3 separate regions of the Homo sapiens genome follow, and regions 2 and 3 are each linked to region 1. The links are contacts of gene promoters, found by promoter capture Hi-C in blood cells and fetal thymus (Javierre and others, 2016). All regions are on one chromosome and are shown on one strand. Each heading gives the region's core, a stretch centred on a gene start or on the middle of the fragment in contact. The rest is flanking DNA. Distances are from core to core; before and after follow the strand shown.

Evidence for each region. Contacts are between HindIII fragments. The CHiCAGO score rates a contact against its expected background, and 5 or more counts as called.
Region 2: a contact is called between a fragment that was not itself captured here and the fragment with the promoter of CYB5A in region 1, in 6 of 17 cell types (total CD8 T cells, naive CD8 T cells, naive CD4 T cells and 3 more). The highest score is 9.1, in total CD8 T cells.
Region 3: a fragment that was not itself captured here is called in contact with the fragment with the promoter of CYB5A in region 1 in 3 of 17 cell types (total CD8 T cells, naive CD8 T cells and fetal thymus); the score reaches 6.1 in total CD8 T cells.

What each region holds. Positions count from the first base shown.
Region 1 is chr18:74,289,600-74,293,741 of GRCh38, reverse strand. It overlaps CYB5A (cytochrome b5 type A), which reads left to right and starts at 1,779. Exons shown (of 5, transcript NM_148923.4): 1 at 1,779-1,995. The coding sequence starts at 1,867. RefSeq lists enhancers at 691-860, 1,220-1,279, 1,569-1,738, 1,818-1,987, 2,593-3,200. The HindIII fragment of the contact is 14,442 bases long and covers 1-4,142 here.
Region 2 is chr18:74,500,137-74,504,278 of GRCh38, reverse strand. It overlaps CNDP2 (carnosine dipeptidase 2), which reads right to left. Exons shown (of 12, transcript NM_018235.3): 3 at 2,807-2,950. Among named protein-coding and RNA genes, the nearest start is that of CNDP2, 5.8 kb to the right of the region's middle. The HindIII fragment of the contact is 998 bases long and covers 1,503-2,500 here.
Region 3 is chr18:74,150,007-74,154,148 of GRCh38, reverse strand. All of the region lies in intron 1 of TIMM21 (translocase of inner mitochondrial membrane 21), which reads right to left. Among named protein-coding and RNA genes, the nearest start is that of TIMM21, 3.6 kb to the right of the region's middle. RefSeq lists an enhancer at 2,433-3,632. The HindIII fragment of the contact is 5,042 bases long and covers 353-4,142 here.

The DNA.
Region 1 (4,142 bases), core at 530-3,029:
AGAAGAAGGAGGAATGGAGGGTGGAAGGTTGCCCATAGTGAAGGAGGCAAGCCCAGAGAAAAGAGAGGGCAGAGACACAGGGGGGGTCGGTACTTGACACCAAGGTGAAGGATCAAGGCAGGTGTCCCTGTGGTGATCAGACACCTCTGAAATGTGGGTGAATAATCAGGCAGGCATCCCTGCAGTGATTAAACACCAAGGGAAGACTGTCTTCTCGAGTCCGTGACCAGTGCCGGAGTTTTGGGTTCACGGATAAAACACATCTCCTCTGTCTCTATCAGAAAAGGAAAGGAACTGAAATTAAGGGAAGGGATAGATTGAAGGGTGGTGCCAAAATTGAAAGGAGAAAGAGGTTGAGAGATAGTGAGAGAGGTTGGAGAAGAGAGTAAAAAGAAGCTGCTTACCCAATTTAAAATTGGTGAGATGTTCCTGGAGCTGGTTGGTCTGAGGACCCGAGGTTGTAGGTGGATCTTTCTCACAGAGCAAAGAGCAGGAGGACAGGTGACTGTCTTATCAGTTAAGGCAGGAACCGGCCATTTTCACTTCTTTTGTGATTCTTCAGTTGCTTCAGCATTTTCACTTCTTTTGTGATTCTTCAGTTGCTTCAGGCCATCTGGATGTATATGTGCAGGCTTGGGCTCAGAGGCCTGACATGCGTGTGTTTTGTGTTTTTCTGGATAGGCATGCATTCCTATGGAGGAGGTAAGCAGGGGGAAGGGAGCTCACATTCATCAGACACCTAGTATGTGTAGGAACCTTCTGCATCCCTGGAAGGATGGATGACCCCACATGTGAAACCTCTCGTGTGGTTCTTTTTGGAATTAACTACCATTGCTGAAAAGGGCCTACATAAAATATCAAATTTTAACATGCTGGAATTTTTCTTTATTTTTTTTCTCCTTCAAACATTTGTAGCTCTTTATATGTGGTATTTCCTCTGTGTCAGAAGGGAAAGAGGGTGCCCTTTGGGGAAGTTCTCTTCCAGACTCCTAGAAGAGAATCTGATTTACCTTAAATGCACAAACAAGGCCTTGCCATGTCACTGGCCAACCGCAGACAAACTACTTCAGTCACAGAAATAATTTGGACACTTTTGCTTTTTAAGGAAAAGATGATTTCCCTGGATTTTTTTCCTGTGAGGACGAGGCATTCCAAAACCCCAGCGGGGTCAGGCACAGTTCGCCAACTTTATGTTTTGGGGGGCAGCGCATTTGCTTCCCGAAGTGAGTTGCGAAACCGTTTTCTAGCGCGCACGGGGCTTTCATCTCTTCCGTGCATGCGAACGGCTTTCCGAGATGCCCCCTTTATGGGCTTGGCCATCGCTACTTTTGTTACAAATTAACGTCTGGGACTCGGACTGCTGCCAATAGGAAACTCCCGCGATTCGCTGCCTAGTTCGCCGCCCTCACAAGACTGGACTCTGCACAGGCCATCCATGCCCGCTGGTGCACCTCGCTCTCTCGCACGCTTAACCCGCGGGGACGCCCCCGACCTCCCACCTCAGCCCTCGCCACAGTTAGTCCCGCCCTTCCGCGCAGACTCCGTGGAGTCCTGTCACGCTCTCCGCGCGCTGCGGCAGCCGGGAGATTGTGAAGGGCACCTCCGGCAGCCAATTAACACCCGCATACTGGGCGGGACCACGCTTGGGCAGGCGGAGGGGGTCGACCGAAGGCGGGGACTTTTGAGTGACAAGGATGATGGCCAACCGTCGGAGGCCCTTCTACTGCGCCCCGCCCCTGAGCCGGCCGCCCAGCCCCCAGTGGGGTTCCCGGCGCGGGGAATGTCCCGGGTGGAGCTGGCTGAGTCGCGCGCTCTGCTCCACCCGACGGGGCTGTGTGTGCTGGGCCTGGCTCGCGGCGAACCGAGATGGCAGAGCAGTCGGACGAGGCCGTGAAGTACTACACCCTAGAGGAGATTCAGAAGCACAACCACAGCAAGAGCACCTGGCTGATCCTGCACCACAAGGTGTACGATTTGACCAAATTTCTGGAAGAGGTGAGTTGGGGATGAGCGGCTTGGGGCGCAGGGAGCGTGGGCCGGGTTTGGGGGTTCACTGGCATGACCTGTCTTTCGCGGCCCGGAGTCCGCATACCTACGCCTAGGCGCGCCCCCCGAGTTCGCTCACCTGCGCGTGTACGCCTGGGCGCGCTTCCGAGTCCGCACACCTGCGCGTGCAAGCCTGGGCGCCCCCCACCGCCCCAAGTCCGCACACCTGCGCGCTCACACCTGGGAGCGCTCCCCGAGTCCGCACACCTGCTAGTGTACACCTGGGCGCTCTCCTCGAGTCCGCACACCTGCGCGTGCACACCTGGGGAGCGCTCCCTGAGTCCGCACACCTGCGCGTGTACACCTGGGAGCGCTCCCCGAATCCGTACACCTGCGCGTGCACACCTGGGAGCGCCCTGCGCGGCGGCATCCTCGCTAGGTGGTGCTGGAGCAGCCTTCCGGGGATAGCGCGCAGCCATGCGGGGGATTTAAATGATCCCTTTCTCCCTTGAGTTTGAATAGAAGGGTGTCCTTCCAGGACCGGCGGCATTCCCGCAGTGGCCGGCTGGAGACCACCCACCCCGAGAGCTGCGGATCCCGCCGGAGGGGACCCCAAGTGCGGAGGTCGGGTGTGGTCCGGGCCTGCGCTTCCCGCGGCAGCCACTGGCCGACCTTGCGGTCCACACCCACTCGCGTTCGCGTTCACCTGGAAGAGGCTCGGTGTTAATTAACCTTTTCCAGTCACGCCTTGGCAGCCAGGTGCCGTGCTTGACTCCTGAGACCGCGGTGTGTGGCTGGAGCAAGAACACAGAGGCCAGGCAGAGCAGCGGACGTTCTGCGTGGGACTCGCCCCTAACAGCTTTGGAAGGTGTAATAGGAAACGTTGGTTAACTTGAAGACATTCCTTTGATAAGATTCTTTGCATTCGGTTATAATTTTTGCCGCACACGCTAAGGGGCGCTTTTGGTGATTGTCTTAGATCCTCTGGAAGTGTTTTACTACTTTTGGGGGAGTCTCAATCATAAATCTTAACGCATGCTCACGCCCCCTCCCAATAATGAGAAGGTTTAGTGATGGGAATTTTTTACATAGTCGGGGAGCAGGGGACAAAAATAGATGCCTGGTCTGAGCTGGATCACAGTTTATATCAGAGGACTTTGTTTTTGCAGAAAATGTTAAAATCAAAAGGCCTGTTTTAAAAAATGAGGCTGGGCCAAGCACGGTGGCTCACACATGTAATCCCAGCACTTTGGGAGGCTGAGGCGGGTGGATCACTTGAGTCTAGGAGTTCGAGACCAGCTTGACCAACATGGCGAAACCCCATCTCTAACCAAAATACCAAAATTAGCCAGGCCTGGCGGGGCACGCCTGTAGTCCCAGCTACTCGGGAGGCTGAGACAGGAGAATCCCTTAAACCTGGGAGGCAGAGGTTGCAGTGAGCCGAAATCGCACCACTTTGCTCCAGCCTGGGGGACAGAGTGAGACTCTGTCTCTAAATAAATAAATAAAATTAAATAATAAGGCTGGAGTTGATGTTTATTGGTAAGGTATTTCACTCTGGAGCAGTGCCCGAAGATAAAGTCATGTTACCATTTAGTAAGGAGGGGTTTATGTTGGGAAATCAGAGCTGACCTGTCCTCTCCCTCCTGCCCGGCTGCAGATCTTGTCATATAACATCAATTCTCATTAACTCTAAATGTGGAATTTTAAGATACAGTGTGTGCTTTGTCTATTTGTGCTTATAGAAGAAGTAGCATAAGAGAATATTAGGATATTTTATATTATGAAGCATTTTCTTCTTTTCTTGTCTTCTCCTAAAGCGAGTTTTTTCAACCCTGGCACTGTTGACATTTTGGGCCAGCCGATCTTTGTTGTGGCGTCTGTCCTGGGCATTGTAGGATATTGAGCCACCTCCCTGAGTTCTACCCACTAGATGACCGGTACCACCACCTCCCCTATTTTTTTTTTTTTTTTTTTTTGAGACAGAGTTTTGCTCTTGTGGCCCAGGCTGGAGTGCAATGGTGTGATCTCGACTCACTGCAACCTCTGCCTCCTGGGTTCAACCAATTCTCCTGCCTCAGCCTCCCAAGTAGCTGGGATTACAGGCGCACACCATCACGCCCAGCTAATTTTTGTATTTTTAATAGAGACAGGGT
Region 2 (4,142 bases), core at 752-3,251, 210 kb before region 1:
GTATGGCCTGACGCCCATCATTTGTCCCAGCGGCACTGTGGCTGCGTGTGTGGCGTGTGGCCTGACGCCCCTCATTTGTCCCAGTGGCAGTGTGGCTGCGTGTGCAGTGTATGGCCTGACGCCCCTCATTTGTCCCAGCGGCAGTGTGGCTGCGTGTGTGGCGTGTGGCCTGACGCCCCTCATTTGTCCCAGCGGCACTGTGGCTGCGTGTGCAGTGTATGGCCTGACGCCCATCATTTGTCCCAGCAGCAGTGTGGCTGCGTGTGCAGTGTATGGCCTGACGCCCCTCATTTGTCCCAGCGGCAGTGTGGCTGCGTGTGCAGTGTATGGCCTGACGCCCCTCATTTGTCCCAGCGGCAGTGTGGCTGCGTGTGTGGCGTGTGGCCTGACGCCCCTCATTTGTCCCAGCGGCAGTGTGGCTGCGTGTGTGGCGTGTGGCCTGACGCCCCTCATTTGTCCCAGCGGCACTGTGGCTGCGTGTGCAGTGTATGGCCTGACGCCCCTCATTTGTCCCAGCGTCACTGTGGCTGTATCTGTGCCTCAGTTCTCACCAGGACAGCCTGTACCCACCAGGGACAAAGAATTGTGGCTGAAATCTCTCTGCTCTGGTCCCAGGGAACCCATGGCTTTGGCAGTCCCAGCTGGCCCTCAGCTTGCCTGAGCAGAAAAATGATTTTCAAATGACCACAGATTTTCTCTACATAAATTCCTGTTCAATAGGGCTCCTCTGAAATACTTAGGCATTTTCTGAGAAACTGCTTTGGCCCACAGGTAAAATTGTTCTGAAACGCCCAACATCACCTTTCCTTCATCAGCTGAAAATACTCTGACTTCTGCACTGACACAGGAAAACACCCACTTCCACCTTCACCCCTGCATCAAGTCATCATCACTCTGAAAAACAGAACACCACTGCCACATGGACATGCGGGAAGAGAACAGAAGATGTGTGGTCACCCCACACCGCAAGCATCTCTGCAGAAGATTCCACCAGTGATGAAATATTTCAATTCCTTGATAAAAATCAGTGTTATGTAATTCAAAATAGTATAACAGTAATTTAGTTTTTTATGAAAGGCCCTTTCTTAAGAATTGCACAGCAATGTCAGTGATCAACGAAGTAAATATAACTATTGTAATGAAACAACTCCTAAAAATGATTTACCTCACCTAGATTTTTCAATATATTAGGAAAAAAAAAAAAACGAAAGGGAGCAAGGTGAGTCTGACCCTAAAAAGAAACAACATGAAGAAACTTGGTTTAGTCTCCCAAAGATGGGGGGAAAATTGGTGGGAAGCTATAATATACCCTAAGTCAATTATTAAATTTGTTTTCAGAAGAAAACCTCAAATGAATAGCACTGCCTGGGGAATCAGGAGGCCTGGGCATGAACCTGCTCTGCATGAGCCTCCTGTGGGCTCCCAGTGGACAGAGCTGCCTGGCCTCCACTCTCTCCCTCTGATGAAACGAATGCGCTGAACTGAATGGCCACACTCAAGCTTCTAGTGCTGTGATTTCAGATTGACACCCAAATCATCAGGCCAAAGAACCGAGATAAGCCATAGCTTATCATTAGATCAAAGAATATAAAAGAATATTACAAACTTTGAAAATATATGGCATGAAACATGCAATTAACATAAGGCTGAAATCATTTGAAATAAACTAGTGAAATAACATACAGTAAGAGGCCGGGTATGGTGGCGTGACAATTTGGGATGCCAAGGCAGGTAAATCGCTTGAGACTAGAAGTTTGAGACCAGCCTGGAAACATGGTGAAACCCCATCCCGACAAAAAAAAAAACCAAAAAGACAAAAAAAACACACATATATATACACACACACAGTAAGTCCTCACTCAACTTCATGGATAGGCTTTTAGAAACTGTGACTTTAAGTGAACAAAACTACCTTATTCAAGGACCTGTTGTTGTATGTTGTCTTGCTTAAAGTTGCAGTTTCTAAGAACCTATGGATGACGTGAGTACTTACTGTACCACAAAGTGAGACTGTTCATTTAGCAAGAAAACAAACCATTCTCACCTGTCAGAATCCTGCACTGAAAAACAACAGACCCCCACACAAAATATCTCTTATGAAAAAGTGGCTCACACCTGTAATCCTAGCATTTTGGGAGGCTGAGGCAGGCGGATCACCTGAGGTCAGGAGTTCGAGACCAGCCTGGCCAACATGGCAAAACCCCGTCTCTACAAAAAATATAAAAATTAGCTGGGTGTAGTGGCGCTCGCCCAGCTACTCAGGAGGCTGAAGCAGGAGAATCGCTTGAACCCGGGAGGCGGAGGTTGCAGTGGGCCGAGATCACGCCACTGCACTCCAGCCTGGGCGACAGAGGGAGACTCTGTCTCAAAAAAATAAAAAAAATAAAAAAATAAGGCTCAAGGACGCAGCACTGTGTGTGAGGGGGAGCCGGGGGTTGGGGGGAGTCTTTATAATTTTTAAATGGACTTGAATAAAGTGTAACTTCCTAGTTTGAAAGCTTATGGATTGCTGGGAGGGGAATCTCAGCCATTCTCTCAGAATGACTGTTACATTAACTTAGTCCTGAGTAACTGTCAGCAGTTCTCCTTCCTGGAGAAAAATGCTGAGTGCCACAAAACCTTTGCCCCAATCCAACTGAAGCAGTCACGTACAGAACTTACCATCCAAATCAGGCCCTTCCTTTTTTGTTTTAAAGGTGAGTGGGGTATGTGAAGCAAAAGATCTTTTAAGAACTTGTGGCGTCTTGTCAACCCCTCAGGCAGAATCTGTCTACGGTCCTGCAATGCAAAGAATGTTGCCTCCTACCTTTTGTTTTCCGATATCCACCAGTTCCACAGAGCCCCCCAACTGCTTAACATCTGCAGCAGCAACTTCCATCATCCTCCTGATTTCGCCTCTCTTCTCCGGCCACGCAGACACACTCTGGATAGCCACCCATTTTGCGAGTTTCTGTTTGTGGACAAGAAGCAACGAGGGATTCTGAAAAGGTGTCCTTGAGGGAGAAGAGGCTCCCGTAACGTTGCCACATTCCAGGCTCACCCTCTGTGGCTGCTGCAGTTGAACAGGCTGATTGGAAATAGGACAGACCCATCACGTGTGCTTTGGGTTAAAGATTTTAAAAACTGTTTGTACTGAGGGAAGAGAGAGACCCTCTCATATTGTTTTACACTCAGTACCTGTTTAAAAACAAACAAAAAAAAAACAAGGAAGTGAAATCAAAGACAGGCAGCCCGGCGCCAGGCCCAAAACCGGACCCGGGCCTGCCTGGCCTAAACCTAGTAGTTAAAAATCAACTCATGACTTAAAAACCGATGTTATTCATAGATTCCAGACATTGTATAAAAGAACACTGTGAAATTCCCTGCCCTGTTCTGTTTCTCTCTGACCACCGGTGCATACAGCCCCTGTCACGTACTGCCTGCTTGCTCAAATCAATCACGACCCTTTCATGTGAAATCTTTAGTGCTGTGAGCCCTTAAAAGGGACAGAAATTGTGCACTCAGGGAGCTCGGATTTTAAGGCAGTAGCTTGCCGATGCTCCCAGCTGAATAAAGCCCTTCCTTCTACAACTCGGTGTCTGAGAGGTTTTGTCTGTGGCTTGTCCTGCTACAGTACTAACCCTGTACCAAGAACTAGAGTACAAAAGAAAAATGTCACATGGTTTATTTTTAACAATTAAGGAGGAAGTAAATGTAAAATGTACCAGGTTCCGTAAATAAGTTTTTATCTGAATGTGACTAAATTACAACTGAAAGATACAGAAAATACCCAATGTTGCCACAGTCCAAATTAGCTTATTTATCATCCCGACAATGGCCAAATTTTCTAAAGTATAATTTTAGCATGAGAATTCTAAAGATTTCATCTGTAATGTATGTACGAAGAATAACTTTAAAACATAATGCTCTAAGTTAACATCAAGAAACAGATTAATATATAACTATTGAATTACTTAGAACATACTTAATGCAAACTATTTAATCTGTAACTATCACAAGAAATTGTTGATGGAGATGAAACAAAAATTTCAATTAGATTTGCTATTCTTAGAAACATACATTAACACTTTGTCAAAAACCAAAAGTGTAACCTATGCCATAATAAGAAGCTAATGAACAGATCTCTAGGCAGATCTTCTAAC
Region 3 (4,142 bases), core at 1,624-4,123, 140 kb after region 1:
CCGATTGTCCCTCCCAACATTTCATTCCTGCCTTGCTTAGCGTATCAGGTGAGTCTTTCTATTTTTTCACTTACCAACAGCTACTGTATATCTACCATGTGTATCTTCATATATATGCAAAGAGCTATAACATTACAGTTACACTACCTTAACATTACAATTACGACTATGCTTTTCACTGATGCTGAGAAAGTGAGTCACCTCCTGGCATTATGTTTATAGACTAATTTATTCACCACATTAGCCATTCAGACTTCTGAAATATAAATCTTTAAAAAATTTTTAAGAAAAAAACTTTTGGAAGAAAATTTTAATAGATGTTGCTGTTATTTTCTCTTCTGTATAAAAAGCTTCTATTATGTTTATAAACAACATTGTTTAAAAGAAGTATTTAGCTAATACAACGCTTGTTTAAAAGTAGTCTTTAGCGTATCACAATCCTTCAAGTTTTCAGCAAGGTTCCCAACTTAGAAGACATTATTCAAATAATAAAAAGACCTCATCTGCCAAAATCTGTGTAATTCATGGGACTGACTCAAACAATTGTCACAAATCCAATTTCCCTTCCAAGGTTCAGGAGTTGGGGCCTACAATGACGACATCTCATTCCACTCTCAGTGTCACAAAATACATTTCAATAAATATTACCTGCCAGTTATGTATCAACTCCCAGGTTGAGAATACAATAACAACTAACTAGTTCTAGTAAGTATCCTTATTTGTCCTTGTTACCCAAACCGGGTCATTGGCCCCAACACCCTGGACTTCTGACTGTCCCTTCCAACAATTCATTCCTACCTTGCTTAGGGTATCTGACAGGTCTTTTCCATTTATTTGATAAACAACAGCTCCTGTATATCTGTTATATATAAAGCCCTGTGCTAAATATTCTCCATATTCTACACACTTGAAAAATTTCTGTTTGTTACTTTATAGCTGTCTCCAATGGAAGCTGCTCACTGTCTAACTTTCTGAACCCTATCAGACCTAATACTTGTATGCAAAAAACCCTCATGCCATTTATTTGCTTCCACAATTCTCTACCCCTCCTATAGTGGGTGCTGTGGTATGGGGCTCCCAGCTGCAGGGAGCACTGGTAGCGGACAGTTGTCAGCTGAGCTCCTCTCTGGGCATTCCATCATAAGAGAGCTTCCTCACTTAGGTCACGGCACTTCCCTGGACCAGCCCATATTCAATGCCTGGTTGATGCAGAAGCATAAGACTCAGCCCCCATATTAGGTAGGACAGTGACTGGCCAGCTCAGCTCCAGAAGTCCCCAGAGCAGCAGCTGAGGCCCCAACTGCAAATGCACTTCGGCCTCTCCCTCTGCCCAGTCCTGCTTCCCTCATCCCTCAAGACGTATTCTGAGAGCACTCCCTGATAAACCTTACGCAAATCCCACTTCCCTGGGAAGCCAACCTACAACGGGTGCTACCAGGAGTGGTAAGCAGCTCTCAATTTGGATTTTGGAGCTGGCTTGCCGGCCACTGGCTGGCAATGAGGACCCTGTCCCTGGTGGTAGGGGGGTACTGACAGCACCTGTCATAGAGCTGTAGTGCAGCTGATGCAGCTCTCACCAATGGGGACCTGGGATGGAATGCTGGCGGAAGGGAATGTACTGGCTGATGTGTTATTCTGGGAGTTTAGGAGGAATCAGCAATTTTAAGGACTTATATCAGACGGCTGTGGCTGGGGCCATGGAGAGGGATGGTGAGATGAAGTGTGTAACTAATCACCAGTGAAGGTGAGTGCCAAGGGCAGGAGCCTCCTCCCCGGCAGAACAAGACTCAAATTGCACCCAGAGGATAGAAAATGCGTGGGTGAGGTCTGGGGCGGAAGGGATTCAGGGAGTTTGGCATTTCAAGCCCATGAGACCTCCCACACCAAGGTCAGGGTCCTGATTTGGGAGGAAAGGCAACCTAAAGCTGGGTAGGGGGCCCTTGAGGTCAATGTTGTAAAAAATCTTGAATCCCAATTCTCCTGACCCCTCTAGCCCTGAAGCAGCAGCTCAGTGTCTGGTAAAGGTTGGCACTTCCTCCACCTTGGAAACTGGGCGAGGGGTGGGTGGGGGTTTCTGCCTAGCAAGATACGTGCTGCTCTCAGGAGGGCTCTCCACCTCCCCTCCTGGCCAAGTTACAACACGACTGGGCATGAGAAGGGTGAGAAGAACAATACTCGGAAGGAGCTGGAGGTCCCCCCGGGGGGGGGGGGAACATAGACACCACTGCTTCTTAAGGGTGGTGTGTCAAGGGCACAGAACACAAAACCAGCTGAGAGTTGATCAGCATGGGGCACGCTCCTGTGATGAATTTAGCAACCAGGCAAGCACCCTGGGAACTGATATGCAGCTGGCTAGGTCTGCTCCTGGAAACTTCGAGACAGTGATGGTCCACATTAAGTAAAAGTGACAGAACAGCCATGGCAAACTGGACGAAAGGCTCAACAGCCTCCAAGAATGGGGATGCTACCATAGATATAAGATATAAAGCCCGAAAACCCACCAGCTGACTATGTTCTTAGGAGGGACAGGAGGACACTGTGTACCAAAGCCACAAGGAAGCCACAGTTACATCTTTATAGAGCAGGATGCCCTGACAGAAATGGAGATGAAAGAATTATGAAGCAGAGACCAGGCTGGGGTGTTAAACAGAAGCCAAGGTGGGTGCAACCATCATAACTAATGGCAAGGCTGGAGTGGCAGTCGGGAGTGTCTGACCTACAGAAAGCAACAGAGTTGATGACTAGAACACAGTGTTTCCAAAGGGAAGACACAAGGGCAGCGGACAAGGCTACTTCTGAATTACACAGTCATGAGAAATTAACTACAGATGATTCCTGAGGCTGAAGGCAGCTGCTCTAATGCAAAGTCCTGAACATTGCCCCAGTTTCTGGACCTGAACCAGTTTTCAGACCTGGAACGCATTTACTGAAGGAAAGCGTATGTAACTGACTCCCCCCGTCCTTCACCAAAAGGACCTACAGTTATCAACTTGGACATAGTCTGTGCTGACAGTGATACCCAAGGACCCAAAGAGTCATGATGACCCCCTGACCGCCCTCCATCACCGGATGTAAGAAGCTCACAGGTGGGTCCAGGGACTTACCTGGCAATAATTTCTGTGATTTCCAAATGTATAAATCAAGGGGATGTACTGAGTAACTGGCAACAATAACTCCCACTTTAGTTCCTTTGGAAGTGGGTTAAGAGCCATCGCAGTGGGAAAAGTCAAATGGAAGCCCCTGAAGCTGCCCTTTCGGTGACCAAGATAGGAAATTAAAAATGATATCACATCTATGGGGAATGGCAGAGTATTCTTAGAGACCTTAGATACAGGCATGGCGATCCCCATCACGGTCCCTTGTAATTTACCAGTCTTCCTTTACAAAACACAAATAGGTGCTGGAGAATGACAGTGGTTAACTGCAAACTCAACCAAGTGGCAGCCGGGGTACACATGTAATACCACAAATGGTAACTTTACAGGGGAATGCATTAACACAATCTCATGGTATTGGCCATTGCTTTGAAGAACGCCTTCTATTCAGAAGCAGCAGCAGTAGTCTGTAGTAACATGAAACAGATAATAACAGTGTATGTTTATGATCCTGCCCAGGATTTGCTAATTCTCTCACCCTCTATCATAACAGTCTTAAGGGACTGAAACCTTCTGGACCTGGGCTGTCTAATACAGTAGCCACTTGCCACTCATGGCTATTTCAGTTCAATTTTAAATTAATTAAAATTAAATCAATTCAGTTCTTCAGTCACAAGTTTTAGCAACATTTCAAGTGCTCAAAATAGCTACAAGTGGCCAGGAACTACCCAAATGGACAGCACAGATATAGGACATTTCTATGCAGAAAGTTTTATTTGAATAATGCTGTTCTGGACATTCAGGAGAATATCACATTTGTCTACTATATTTATGCCATCATGTTAGAGCCCATAAGTAACAAGTGGCAAGTGTGTTAGAAGGCTTGGTCAGAGAAGCTGCAAGTGTGAGAGGTGGGTCCAACAAAGATGCAGAGGCTCATCAACACATGAGCCGACCTCGTGGGGCTACACTGGGGCGTGCCAAGACATGCCCTCCCAAGTAAAAGACAATTGTACCCTATACCTCCTACCACAATGCTTCATAGGC